2 separate regions of the Homo sapiens genome follow, and region 2 is linked to region 1. The links are contacts of gene promoters, found by promoter capture Hi-C in blood cells and fetal thymus (Javierre and others, 2016). All regions are on one chromosome and are shown on one strand. Each heading gives the region's core, a stretch centred on a gene start or on the middle of the fragment in contact. The rest is flanking DNA. Distances are from core to core; before and after follow the strand shown. Region 1 holds the start of C12orf57 (chromosome 12 open reading frame 57). Region 2 has its middle 29 kb from the start of APOBEC1.

Evidence for each region. Contacts are between HindIII fragments. The CHiCAGO score rates a contact against its expected background, and 5 or more counts as called.
Region 2: a fragment that was not itself captured here is called in contact with the fragment with the promoter of C12orf57 in region 1 in 1 of 17 cell types (fetal thymus); the score reaches 5.3 in fetal thymus.

The regions. Positions count from the first base shown.
Region 1 is chr12:6,938,780-6,945,833 of GRCh38, reverse strand. It overlaps C12orf57 (chromosome 12 open reading frame 57), which reads right to left and starts at 1,812. Exons shown (of 3, transcript NM_138425.4): 1 at 1,661-1,812; 2 at 1,182-1,358; 3 at 1-63. The coding sequence starts at 1,712. It overlaps RNU7-1 (RNA, U7 small nuclear 1), which reads right to left and starts at 2,018; the gene lies at 1,956-2,018. It overlaps ATN1 (atrophin 1), which reads right to left. Exons shown (of 10, transcript NM_001940.4): 7 at 6,657-7,054; 8 at 4,811-4,954; 9 at 4,280-4,460; 10 at 3,513-4,087. The coding sequence ends at 4,054. RefSeq lists enhancers at 1-595, 1,156-1,305, 845-1,424, 1,316-1,435, 1,736-1,925 and 1 more and a silencer at 1,263-1,522. The HindIII fragment of the contact is 10,579 bases long and covers 1-1,873 here.
Region 2 is chr12:7,633,629-7,640,682 of GRCh38, reverse strand. No RefSeq gene overlaps it. Among named protein-coding and RNA genes, the nearest start is that of APOBEC1, 29 kb to the left of the region's middle. RefSeq lists silencers at 551-650, 1,732-1,861 and an enhancer at 2,303-2,837. The HindIII fragment of the contact is 304 bases long and covers 2,592-2,895 here.

The DNA.
Region 1 (7,054 bases), core at 563-3,062:
GGCTGGCGATCTCAGGATCCTGGGCTTCGTAGGACTTGACCAAGCGAGCAAACTTAAGGACACCTGCAAGAGGGAGTGGAAGGTCAACCCTTCTCCTAAGGACCAGCGTGCCTAAGACACCTGGAGGGGGTGGTAGTCTAAGCATGAACTGCTCCCCCACTGGCTGGGCAGCTGTTTGCCAAACAGGACGCATGCAGGCCTCTGTCCCGTGTGGTTTGGATGATGACATTTGGTCTACACTGGGCACAACTAGATGGGATGCAGTGAATGAAAATGTCCCAAGGCAGTGTGCTTCTTGCTCTCAGGTGAACCATTTTAGCAGTTTAGTCACTGGAACCCCAAGAATGAACACGAGACCCCAGGTCTGTAGCTGGAACTCAGGAAGGCTATGAGGCAGCAGAGCTGAATCAGTCAACACCTTTGGGGAACACCAGGATCTCACCAAAAATTTAACCACCAACCCCCCCCAAACAAAAATTAGCTGAAACACCCTGGAGAGACTGCAGCCACTGCTGTCATGCAGACATGTCACTAAAAGGTGGCACAACAGCATTTAAGTCCAGCTCTGCTACTCGAGAGTCTGCACCATTAGAGTTTGCTTCCTCATCACAAAATGGAATAATAATGTGATTAACAGTACAGGTTGACCATCCTTAATTAGAAAATCCAAAATCTGAAATTATGAGTGCCAGTGTGAGGCCGAAAATGGAAAATTCCACACCTGACTTCATAGTGGGGGGTGGGGGAGACTGTAGTCAAAACGCAGTCAAAACTTTGTCTCATGCACAAAATTATTCAGACTATTATATAAAATTACCCTCAGGCTATGTGCATAAGGTGCGTGTATATGAAACAAAACAATTTCGTGTTCAGATTTAGGTCCCATCCCCCAAGATATCCATGTATATGTAAATATTCCGAAATCTGAAAAAACCCGAAACACTTCCGGTCCCAACCATTTCGGGTAAGGGATACAGAACCTCTACTGTACAAAACGCAACTCGGACGCACAAGCTCAGGGTAGACCCTGGGCTCTGAGTGCCAAGAATGTTAGTCAGATTGTGGCTGCCGCCGTGTGGCGAGAAAGGGGACAACCGCTCATGGGCCCACAGATCCGGCGCCCTCTCCCGACCCAACTCCCGCCTTCCCGCGTCTGACCCGCCTTCCCGCGTCTGACCCACCTTCCCCGTCGCAGCTGAAGCCATAGGCTTTGATAACCTCCTGCTGGATCTGCGTGGCCACGGGCAGCACGAATTGCAGCATCTTACCCATGTCGTTGCAGGCGTTATCCCGAGCCTCGTCCATGCGCACTGCATTCTCCGGGGCGGAGAACGCCTGGATCACCTCCGCGAGGACCACTGCGCGCCAGAAGCATCCCAGGGAGGCGTCCCGGGTAGGCGTCGGAGAACAGACAGCGGGCCCAGCGGAGAGCGCAAGGAATTAGTGGATTGAGGCTGTAGGTAACCCAATAAGATCCCAAGTCTTGGGGGCAAGCGCCCCACTTAGAAGGACGGTACCCGGCGTCCCCTACCCCATTTTCCCGGCGGACGTAGCCAGGTTTGTCGCCCCACATCCTCCGCCCGCATCCTCCCCAGACCAGCAGCCCATGCCTTGACTACCCCAGGCCAGCAGCCTATGCCTTGACTAGGACGATTCTCACCCTTTGCTTGCTCAGCGCTCAAGGCCGCCGGTTGGGTCGAGGCGGACGCCATAGGGCGTCTGAAGCTCTAGGTTCAGCGGAGGTAAATGGAAAACTCACGAATAAAGAGCCACGTCCTACAACCGTTCCCAACGCCCCTGGGAGCGGAAAGGAAACAGCATCCGGCGCAGCCGGAAGCGCCCAGGCGTGGCCCAAACCTTCATACCCCAAGCTTACAACTGCATCAAGACCACCAAAACTACCCATAATTTTTGCACAGTGAAAACAATCTATCATTGGCAACAAACATCATAAGAGGGGCTTTCCGGTAAAAAGCCAGAAAGCCTACTAGACAAATTCTAAAAGAGCTGTAACACTGCTGCGTATGTGTTTGGAGAGAAGATGGGATATAAAGGAACTCCACAATTGATGAGGGTGAGCTTAGGTGACTTTTTTCTTGTTCCTATTACTGTATAAACAACGACGCATGTGGTAACTTTCAGTAGGAAAAATAATATTCTAAGGAACTTACTTAAGTCATTCATTTCTAGAGTTCGCGAACATTTGTTCTCAGCCCATGCAAATGAGTTCGGTGCTGATTGGTTGAGAAAGCAGCCAGTCACAGCCCCTTCGTTGTTGTTAAGCCCGGAGACCTGGATTCGGCAGTAAAGGCCCAGAGCAAAAGCCGTTGTCGCAGTTTCCTAAAGGCCTTGTCTATTGATGAGCGATGGAGCCTAATGCCCGGCCCGATTTCCCTTCCCTTCCAGGCTTTTATCACCCACTCCCTTCTCAAACTGTAGGTGGTTAAGGATGCCAGGTACTAATCGCCTGGACCTATTAAAACTAGCCCACCCCACCCCCGCTTCATAACCGGCTTTGTTTTTTGTTTTTGAGACGGAGTCTTGCTCTGTCGCCAAGCTGGAGTGCAGCTGGGGGGGATCTTGGCTCACCATAACCTCCACCTCCCGGGTTCAAGCGATTCTCCTGCCTCAACCTCCCAAGTCGCTGGGACGACAGGCGCGCGCCACCATGCCCAGCTAATGTTTTGTTTTTAGTAGAGACAGGGTTTTGCCATGTTGGCCAAGCTGGTCTGGAACTCCTGACCTCGTGATCCGCCCGCCTCGGCCTCCCAAAGTCCTGGGATTACCAGCGTGAGCCGTCGCGCCTGGCCTCATAACCGTTTCTTAAAGTATTCCACGGAAAGGTTTCAGGACTCTGAAGCCCTTGTTCCGGAGGACTCTGGTGGCTCCTAGCAGTGAGACCCGTCTGAATAGATTCCTAGAACTGACCACGTCAGAGGTGGGCCTGTCCCAGGCCTCTAGTGTTTGGTTGGTTGGGGTGTCTTTTGTTTGTTTGTTTTGAGATAGGGCCTTGCTCTGTCACCCAGGCTAGAGTGCAGTGGTGCGATCATGACTCACTGTAGCCTCGACCCCCAAGTGATCCTCCCACCTCAGCCTCCTGAGTAGCTGGGACCACAAGTGCACCACAACCCCCAGCTGATTTTGTCTTAAGATGGGGTTTCTCTATGTTGCCCAAGCTGGTTTCCAACTCCTGGGCTCAAGCAATCCACCCGCGTCTCACAGGCATAAGCCACAGAGCCCAGACCGAGGCCTCCACTGGCGCGCAGCGGTCCTGCCCAGCCTTGGGGCAGGAGGGGGCACCAGCACCCATGGTACCGCCTCCAGCTGAGTCAAGGCTCTGGGCTCTTCAGGGATCCCCTCTCCAATTCTTCCCAGCCCCCACACCCCGTTCCTTAAGAAGGTCTGGTCTCTTCCCGCTTCCCTGCCAGGCCCTGGCTGCAGTTCTCTCTAAGCACCGCTGCACTGAGACCCAGCCTCACCCCCATATCCCGCAAAGAATAGTCACAGCCATGTTCCTGGGGAGTTGTGAGGATGTTTTTGTTTGGTTGGTTTTGGTTGGGATGTTTTTTTAAGAGCGTCATATAGATATTTATATATATAAATTATTAGTGTGGGGAAGGGGCAAGGGGCATACATTGCAGAGGGGGCGCGCACACAGGGATCGGGGAGGGGCAGGGGTGGCACACGATGCTACGCAAAACAGCCACATCTAACAGATGAAATAATCACACCAACGGGGCAGGGGAGGGGCGGCGGCCACAGGGGTTGGGCATGGGGGAGGAGAAAAGCAGGGGGGACAAGGAAGAGAGACCTGGTCCAAGATTCTGTGCGCTTTCTGTCCCCATCCTCGCCACCTCCCCACCTCTGCACACCACATCGGGCCTTGGCCTTCTGTCTGTCCCTCCCTCCCCCACTCTCTGTCCAGCTGCGGAGGCCCTGCAACTGAGCAGCACCCTCTTGGCTCTGGGTGGCAGGCCAAGGGCACGGTGGGGGGAGGGTGGGGGTGCTCCAAGGTCCAATGTAGGAGCCATGGTGCTCTCTTGATCGCAGGTTCTACAGTGGCTTGTCGCTTTCCTTCTTCAGGTGACTAGGGAAGGGGCAGTGCATAGCAGAGAGGTAAGAGACTTGAGACCAACTCTGACCTTGCCCCCTCTTACCGAAGGGGTTGGGAGAGGAGGGGTTCCCTCCCCCAGGAGCACGGTGCCCAGCCGTACCATGCCCACAGCTCCTCCCAGGCTCGCTGAGCCCATGTCCCCTGGGCTGGGGCACCCTAGGGTACCTGTAGTAGTCCTCCTGGGCAGGCAGCGGCACACTGTGCAGCGGGTGATGGGCATGCAGCCACTGCTGCTGTTCCAGCGCCAAGCGCTGCAGCTCAGCTGACTGTGCGTGCATGGCCTGCAGCTGATGAGCTGCTGACATCGGGGCAGAAAGGGAGGCCGGCAGGTCCCGGTAAGGGGCAGCTGTGAGCAGGAAGGGCAAGGGGCATATGACCAACGGATAACAAGTACCTGCTCTGGACCAGGGGATAGCCAGCTCCTTTACATACAAAGGTAATGAACTAAAAAGTGAGGTAACACACCCAGTTCTGTAAGTTGCCAGTGGTAGGGTGGAATTGGGATTCGAACCTCTTAGGCTGACACTAAAACTCGTGCTTCTCTTGGGCAGAGCTCCAGCTCTCCTATTCCCATGCCCAGCTCCTCTAGGCACCTCCTCATCCCTCCCCAAGCCCAACTAGGCCCATCCCCCCACCCAAATACCTCCTTTCTGCCCTTTTCTCATTGGAGCTGCCTACCCCAACTTCCATCCTTACCAAAGAGCTGGTGACGAAGAACTTCGTTCTCGTGCAGAGGGTGAGGAAGCAGGGGGTTAGGGAGAGTTCCAGCTGGGTAGGGGATCCGGGTAAGGTGAGACCCTGAGGCCAGGGGGTCAATGAGAGGGTGCACCGAGGCAGAGGCTGGAGGGCAGAGAAGAGGAAGGTGTCACCAGAAGGCAGGTTTGGGGCAAACCATGCATTTGGGTGAAGGGATCCAAGCCTGGGAACTGAGTCAGACAAACACAAGGAGGTCCAAAGTGGAACAAAGGCAGAGTGGAAGAACTAGAGGCCTGGCAGGGGTGGACAGGCTGAGCCCTACTGGAGGAGGGACATATGGATGACACAGGACAGGAGATTACAGTCATCAGAAGGGTCTGAGGGGAAGGACAGAGAGAGGTAGACTGCGTGAAGAAGGTGGAAGATGATAGAAGTTTAGAAAATAAGACAAGAAGAGGCCGGGCACAGTGGCTCAAGCCTATAATCTCAGCACTTTGGGAGGCTGAGGCAGGCAGCTCACCTGAGGTGAGGAGTTCAAGACCAGCCTGGCCAAGATGGTGAAACCCTGTTTCTACAAAAAATACAAAAAAATTAGCCAGGCAGGGTGGCACACGCCTATAGTCCCAGCTCCTCGGGAGGCTGAGGCAGGAGAATCGCTTGAACCTGGGAGGTGGAAGCTGCAGTGAGCCGAGATCGCGCCACTGCACTCCAGTCTGGGCAAAAGAAAAAAAGGAAGCCGGGTGCGGTGGCTCACGCTTGTAATTCCAGCACTTTGGGAGGCCAAGGCGGGTGGATCACAAGGTCAAGAGATCAAGACTATCCTGGCCAACATGGTGAAACCCCGTGTCTACTAAAAATACAAAAATTAGCTGTACTTGGTGGCACACGCCTGCAGTCCCAGCTACTCGGGCAGGCAGTGCCTGCTGAGGCAGAAGAATCACTTGAACCCCAGAGGCGGAGGTTGCAGTAAGCCGAGATCGCGCCACTGCACTCCAGCTTGGTGACAGGGCGAGACTCCGTCTCAAAAACCAAAAAATGGTGAAAGGATAGTAAGTAAAGCTCATTATCGCCTATGACACCCAAACCCAAAGCTACAGGGCCCTTTCTAGAAAGTTACAGATCTAGAGATGGGGAAAAACATGAAAGACCTCGCAGAGGGAGAAGAGGAGAAAATGGCAAAAAATGAGTTGAATCCAGAGAAATCAGAAGATAGGTTTGTGGGTTGGGCACGGTGGCTCACGCCTGTAATCTCAGGACTTTGGGAGGCCGAGGTGGGTGGATCGCTTTGAGCTCAGGAATTTGAGACCAGCCATGGCCAACATGGCGAAACCCCGTCTCTACCAAAAATACAAAAAGTAGCCAGGTATGGTGACACACGCCTGTAATCCCAGCTACTCCAGAGGCTGAGGTAGGAGGATCACTTGAGACCGGGAAGTCGAGGCTGCAGTGAGCTGTGATTGCGCCACTACACTCCAGCCTGGGTGGCAGAGCCAGACCATGTCTCAAAAAAATAAATAAGAAGACAGGTTTGTGAAGGGCTTGGGAGAATGGGGCTGTGAGAATAGAAAAGTGTCCTTCAAAAGCTCCCGTGTGGGCCTCTGTCATGGGAAGGATACTAGACTATGGAGAGAACTGGGCTGTGGGGCATACAGGCTTTGTGGCCAGGGAAGGCCATGAGAAGACAAGGCTGAGAGAACGTCAGGGAGGCAAAGTTCAGGGCAGCAATCTCAGGAAAGGTTCATGCCAGGCCAGGGGAGGAAAGTCTTGGCCATAGGAATGAAAGAGCCCAGTCATGATAGGGGGAAGGTGGCCCCAAAGGGCCAGGGCAAGGAAGGAGGGGTCTCACCTGCATGGATAGCATCTTGCTGGTGCAGGTGCAGGTGCGAGTGGATGTGGGAGTGCTGGTGGTGATGGGGAGTCACATTGAGCATCTGCAGCCGGGCCAGTGGGTCATTGCCCAGGGCCGCCACCCTTTCTGCGTGCTGCCTCTCAGCTGCCAGCCGCTCAGCATAGGACATGTCAGGCCGCAGGGCTGGCCCAGCTGCCAGCGCTAGACGTTCTCGCTCCAGGGGCCCCAGGCTCGGATGAAAGGGGAAAGGGTGCAGGCCAGGTGGGCCAGGCTGCAGAGCCAGGCCCCCATGTCGGGGAAAGGGATCCAAGCCCGGCCCAGGGACCCCATGTAGGGGTTCCAGCTCACTAGGCTTCACCTCAAAGCCAGGCTTGAGGCGGTCACGGAGGTCTCGT
Region 2 (7,054 bases), core at 1,494-3,993, 690 kb before region 1:
AGGCAGAGAGACACCCGAGCGGGTTACTACTACCAACTCGGGCAGCCTGCTTTTATTCTCTTATCTGGCCCCCCCCCAACCACATCCTGCTGATTGGTAGAGGCGAGTGGTCTGTTTTGACAGGGCGCTGATTGGTGCGTTTACAATCCCTGAGCTAGGTACAAAGGTTCTCCTCCTCCCCATCAGATTAGTTAGATACAGAGTATCCACACAAAGGTTCTCCAAGGCCCCACCAGAGCAGCTAGATACAGAGTGTCGATTGGCGCGCTCACAACCCTGAGCTAGACACAGGGTGCTGATTGGTGTGTTTACAAACCTTGAGCTAGATACAGAGTGTCCATTGGTGTATTTGCAATCCCTGAGCTAAACATAAATTCTCCACGTCCTCACCAGACTCAGGAGCCCAGCTGGCTTCACCCAGTGGATCCCGCACCGGCGCTGCAGTCCCACGCCATGCGCTTGCACTCCTCAGCCCTTGGGCGGTCGATGGGACTGGGCGCCGTGGAGCAGGGGGCGGCGCTCGTCGGGGAGGCTCCGGCTGCACAGGAACCCACGGAGGCGGGGGAAGGCTCAGGCATGGCGGGCTGCAGTCCCAAGGCCTGCCCCGCGGGAAGGCAGCTAAGGCCCGGTGAGAAATCGAGCGCAGCGCCGGTGGGCTGGCACTGCTGGGGGACCCAGTACACCCTCCGCAGCCGCTGGCCCGGGTGCTAAGCCCCTCACTGCCCCGGGCCGGCAGGGCCGGCCGGCTGCTCCGAGTGCGGGGCCGCCAAGCCCACGCCCCCCCGGAACTCCAGCTGGCCCGCAAGCGCCGCGCGCAGCCCCGGTTCCCGCTCGCGCGTCTCCCTCCACACCTCCCTGCAAGCTGAGGGAGCGGGCTGCGGCCTTCGCCAGCCCAGAAAGGGGCTCCCACAGTGCAGCGGTGGGCTGAAGGGCTCCTCAAGTGCCGCCAAAGTGGGAGCCCAGGCAGAGGAGGCGCCGAGAGCGAGCGAGAGCTGTGAGGACTGCTAGCACGCTGTCACCTCTCAATGGGATTAACCACACTTTACCCACGCAACCTTAGCTTATCTGCCTTGTGTGATTCCCTTTGACTTCCTAAGCCTATGTGATCTACCTGGCTCCCTGAAAAATTGATCTTTGGAGAGACTGTGTTGTTTTTGGTCAAGGCTCCTTTAACAGAGGCAATGTGCTAGACTGCCTGCTATTATGGCCCATGCCAAACCATTTACCCTCAGAAAAATGGTTCTGGTTAACTTCTGAACTTAAAATCTCCCTACTAATTATACCATTTTAACAGGAAACAGATTAGATGTCTTAAAAGAGCGTAGGAACAGAATGGCCATTTTCCTGCTTATGGGACAATATCAAGACTAAAATGTGGCAGCAGACATATTACTTCTTTTTGAGACAGAGTCTCACTGTCACCCAGGCTGGAGTGCAGTGACGTAATCTCAGCTCACTGCAACCTCTGCTTCCCCGTTTTAAGCAATTCAATAGCCTCAGCCTCCTGAGCAGCTGGGACCGCAGGTGTGCACCACCACGCCCAGCTAATTTTTGTGTTTTTAGTAGAGACGGGGTTTCACCATATTGGCCAGGCTGGTCTCGAACTCCTGACCTCGTGATCCACCCGCTTTGGCCTCCCAAAGTGTTGGGATTACAGGCGTAAGCCACCATGCCCGGTCGAGGACATATTACTTCTAATTGCTGAAGGCAGAACTTTCCGGTTCACAGAAGTAGGTTAGAGCCTGATTTCTGGTGGTGCAAAAGGAAGTTCAGTGTTACCGTAAAAAATGTGGCCCCTGAAGAGGATTTCTACTTCCACTAGGTGGCGCTGTTGGCTTAGAAATACTATATGCTCACCAGCGCAGCCACAGAGAGCGGGCTTGTTGAGTTACTGCCTGCTGCGTTTGCCATCTTTCCTAGCAGACCTGTTTCACTGAACTGTAAAACTCCCTGCACTTTTCACAGAGAGAGAGTAAGAGACCGTGGATAGAGAAAGAAGGAAAATTTTGCAACAGGATAGTAAGAAGAGAGCCTTGAAATTGAAGGAGAGATTTGAGGTTGGGGCTCGCTCTATAGTCACCACTCCGATGAATGAATTCCCGGTCAATGCAACCAAAATGATAACTGCTCTGATGAATGGAAGAACAGCAGGGTCCTTGGTCTAACATCGTTTTAGATAAAGCGACATGGACACATGTAGAGTGGTTTTAAGGAGTGGAGAGTTTAATAAGCAAGAAAGAAGGAAGAAGCTTCCCAGTACAGGGACAGAGGGAGGGGGGCTCCCAGAGAGAAACCCCGTGTGTGGCAGAGTAGTTTGTTATAGCAGGAGGCTGGAGGAGGAGGTGTCTAATTTGCATAGGGCCCAGGAGATTGGTTTGACCAGGCGTGTCATTCACATAGCCCGTGAAAAACCTGGCACTCCTACCTTACTCCTTTAATATGCAAATGCAGGTCACCATGATATCCATGTTATCTGGAGGCAATCATGACACTTGGCACATGTAGTGATGAGGAGGAGAGGGTGGCACTCTTCCTGTTGGCCATGTTGGGTGGACCCAGTTTCTAATCGCCAGCATTTGCATATCAAAGCTTGCCGGCCTGGTTTTTCAAGCTGCCTTTCTGTTAGAAAAGAAATGGTTTGGGGGTTGCTTCTTATTACAGGAAAATTTCCACTGAGAACCTTTACCCTTTCTAGCGGCCTAAAAGTTATTTCTTAATAATTCCTGTATTATTTGGAGGTGTTTGGGTCATGTGGGTAGATCCCTCCTGAAGTAATGAGTTCTCACTGTTCGTTCACACAAGAGCTTGTTGTTTAAGAGTCTGGCATCTCGCTTGCTCCTACTCTCACCATGTGGCACACTGTCGCCCCTTTGCCTTCCACCATGATTGTAAGCTTCCTGAAGCCCTCATCAGAAGCAGATGCTGGCACTATGCTTCATGCACAGCCTGTAGAACTATGAGTCAACTTAACCCCTTTTCTTTATAGATTACCCAGCCTCAGGTATTCTTTTATAGTAATGCAAGCAGACTAACACAAAGCTCATTATATATTTACAGTAGAGATGGATGTTAATACATGAGCATATTTTATATGAGCCACTATAATTATTGCTATTCCTATAGGAGAAAAATTATTCAGCTGATTAGCAAACTTTCACAGAGAAAATATCTAATGGTCATTAGCTGTACTATGAACTTTAGGCTTTATTTTCTCATTCACAGTTGGAGGCTCAACAAAAATTGTATCAGCTAAATTATCATTTGATATCAACCTTCATGATAGATATTGTTGTAGTAAAGCAAAGTAAAATGAAAGTAAAGTCAAAGTAAAGCAAAGTAAAAGGCTAGAGAGTGTTGGAAGCAGTGAATCCTATTTTAGATGGACTTGCCAAGGATACTGGTAATTTTCTTTTTTTTTTGAGATGGAGTCTTTCTTTGTCATCCGGAGTGGAGTGCAGTGACTTGATCTTGGCTCACTGCAACCTCTGCCTCTGGGGTTCAAGCGATTCTCCTGCCTCAGCCTACTGAGTAGCTGGGATTATAGGCACGTGCCATCATGCCTGGCTAATTTTTGTATTTTTAGTAGAGACGGGGTTTCACCATATTGGCCAGGCTGGTCCCGCACGCCTGACCTTGTGATCTGCCCACCTCGGCCTCCCGAAGTGCTAGGATTACAGGCATGAGCCACTGCACCTGGGCGGATACTGGTAATAAAGTAAATGAGCAGGTCATGTGAAAATCTGGAGAAAGTTTATTTCAAGCAGATGGAAGAAGGTGCAGGCATTTGAAATTGGAACAAAACAAATTTGGCATTTTTTAAGGAATAAAAAATGTGGTTAGAGTGGAATAAATGAGGTGAGAAAATGTAGGAAATAGGGCCAGGGAGACAAGCAAAGGTAAGATTATGTAGGGAAGTATAGGTCATGGAAAGAAATTTGGATTTTCTTTTGAGTAAACTGGATTTTAGAAATTTGTGGTAGTGCAGGATTTATTATGTATTAACAAGAACTGGTTGCCTGCTGTATGGAAAACAGATATAGTGGGGCAAAAGTGAAGTAAGGAAGTCCAGTTAGAAATACAGCAGATATCTAGTAAAGACTAAGCTCTGATTTTTTATCTGGCCTAAATTCCTTATTAAGGGGTATGGGGAGTCATGACCCACAAACCATAAATTCTCATCAGATGGGTTTTATTTAATCCTGTATATTACGACTTACTTTCCAATCTGACTCTGGCATAACTAGAAAGAAAATAAAAATGTTTTACCCCAAAATATATTTTCTTGCCATACCTTGAAATTGCCCTGCAAAGTCCCTTGTGGGAAAAATCCACATTCTATAGAGAATCCCCTTTCCCCTTTGTTTTCCTTTCTTCCTTTCTGGATCCAGGAGATAATCAACTAAGAGCCAGGTACCCTTTTAGGTCTGATAGGAAACATTTTACAACCTGCTGTCTCTGAAGTCTGCTATCAGAGAGCTTCCTCTGCACAATAAAACTTGGTCTCCACAATTCTTTATCTTAACTTGAACATACCTTTCTTTTTTTTGAGACAGAGTCTCACTCTGTCACCCAGGCAGGAGTGCAATGACGCAATCTCGGCTCACTGCAACTTTCGCCTCCTGGGTTCAAAAGATTCTTGTGCCTCAGCCTCCCAAGTAGCTGGGGTTACAGGCACCCACCACCATGCCCAGCTAATTTTTGTATTTTTAGTAGAGACAGGGTTTCACCATGTTGGCCAGGCTGGTCTCGAACTCCTGACCTTGGGTGATCCACCTGCCTTGGCCTCCCAAAGTGCTGGGATTACAGGTGTGAGCCACCACACCCGGCCTGGACATTTCCTTTCTATTGATCCCAGCTCTTCAGATAAACTCAACCAACTGTCATACAGAAAATGTTTAAATTTACCTATAGCCTGGAAGCCCCTGCTTTGAGTTGTCCTGCCTTTCTGAACCAAACCAATGTATTTCTTAAATGTATTTGATGTGTCATGCCTTCCTAAAACATATAAAAGCAAGCTGTACCCCATCCATCCTGGGCACATGTTCTCAGGACCTCCTGAGGGCTGTGTCATGGGCCATGGTCACTCATATTTGGCTCAGAATAAATCTCTTCACATATTTTATAGAGTTTGACTATTTTCATCCATACTAGGAAATATGACTATTATCTCTACTGAAATAAAGATACAAGTGGTGAGAAGTAGTAAGATTTGGGATATATATTAAAGGTTTAGTTGACAGGATTTGTTGATGGAATAAATGTATGCTACAAAGGGAAAACTCATGACTTTTACATTTTTAGCAAGAACAACCAGATGAATGATACTGTCACTTAACTGAAATGAGGAACACAGGGCTAGGAGTGGTTTGAAAGTGAAGTCAAGAGTTCCATTTAATTATGTTAACTTTTAAAATGTTTATTAGACATACAAGTGGACAGTTATTCATGTCTGAATTTGATAGAAAAGGTAAAATCTGGGGATTAAAAAAATGGGCTTTACATATGCATTGTCTTAAAGTCACAGGAATGGTTGACCTTACTTAGACATGTGAATATGAATTGTGGACATAAGAAAATTGAAGACCAATCCACAGGATTTACCAACATCTGGAGATCAAGACAAAGACGAAGAAACAGCAAAGTTGGCTGAGTAGCAGTAGCCAATAAGATAAAAGATAAATCAGAAAACTTTTATCCCAGAAGCCAAGTGGAGAGAAAAGTGTTTTAAGAATGAAGATGGGGAAGATTCTAGGTAGGTGGTTTTAGTACAGTGCACTTTAAAAATCTCCATCTAGGGCAGCAAAACCAAGGAGCAATGAACAAAACCCATTTATAGCAAAACTAGATGGCAAAATTTCTCCATGAGCTTTCAGTTATGAGAAGATGATGACGAATTATCAGTAACTACACAACCCACAAAGTATCAGCATCTGTTTGGGAAGTTGGACAGGATCCAACTCACAGGAAAGTCTAATAGGGCCACAGTGCAATAAAGTATAAAGATGTTGGGTAAGTCTGGGCCCTATAGACTTTCTTTTTTTAAAAATTTTTAACCTTTTTTTTTTTGGAAATGGAGTCTCGCTCTCTCGCCCAGGCTAGAGTGCAGTGGCGCGATCTCCCCTCATTGCAAACTCCACCCCCCGTGTTCACGCCATTCTCCTGCCTCAGCCTCCCAAGTAGCTGGGACTACAAGCGCCCGCCACCACGCCCAGCTAATTTTTTGTATTTTTAGTAGAGATGGGGTTTCACCATGTTAGCCAGGATGGTCTCGATCTCCTGACCTCGTGATCCACCCGCCTTGGCCTCCCAAAGTGCTGGGATTACAGGCGTGTGCCACCGTGCTCAGCAAATTTTTTTAACTTTTTAGTTCAGGGGTACATGTGCATGTTTGTTACATGGGTAAACTTGTGTCATGGGGGTTTGCTGTACAGATCATTTCATCACCCAGATATTAAGCCTAGTACCCATTGTTATTTTTCCTGATCCTCTCTCTCCTCCTACCCTTCACCCTCCAACAGGCCTCAGTGTGTGTTGTTCCTTTCTATGTATACATGTGTTTTCATCATTAGCTCCCACTTATAAGTGAGAACACATGGTATTTGGTTTTCTGTTCCTGCATTAGTTTGCTAAGAATAATGGTCTCTAGCTCCAGCCATGTCCCTGAAAATGACATGATGTTTGAGCTAATGGATATCGCAATTACTTTGATTAGATGATTATATACTACATGCCCGTATCAGAATATTACATGTGCTCTATAAATATGCACAACTATTATGGATCAGTAAAAAATAAAAATAAACCAAGGCTGTCATTTTCAAGCTACAAAAGAAAAAAGGCGATTAGGTCCTACATATGTCCTTTTCCATGTCATCTAAGTCTAACTTGGCTTATAAGATCACAATCAATATCCTAAATGGGAATATGGGATTTTAAGAATTTTCTCTTAGCTTCTAATTTTCTTTAGCTTCTAATATTTCTGTAGATAATATGCCAGTATATTGAAAGTACATATATCACACAGGGGCAACAGTTATGTTTCCATGTAAGAATT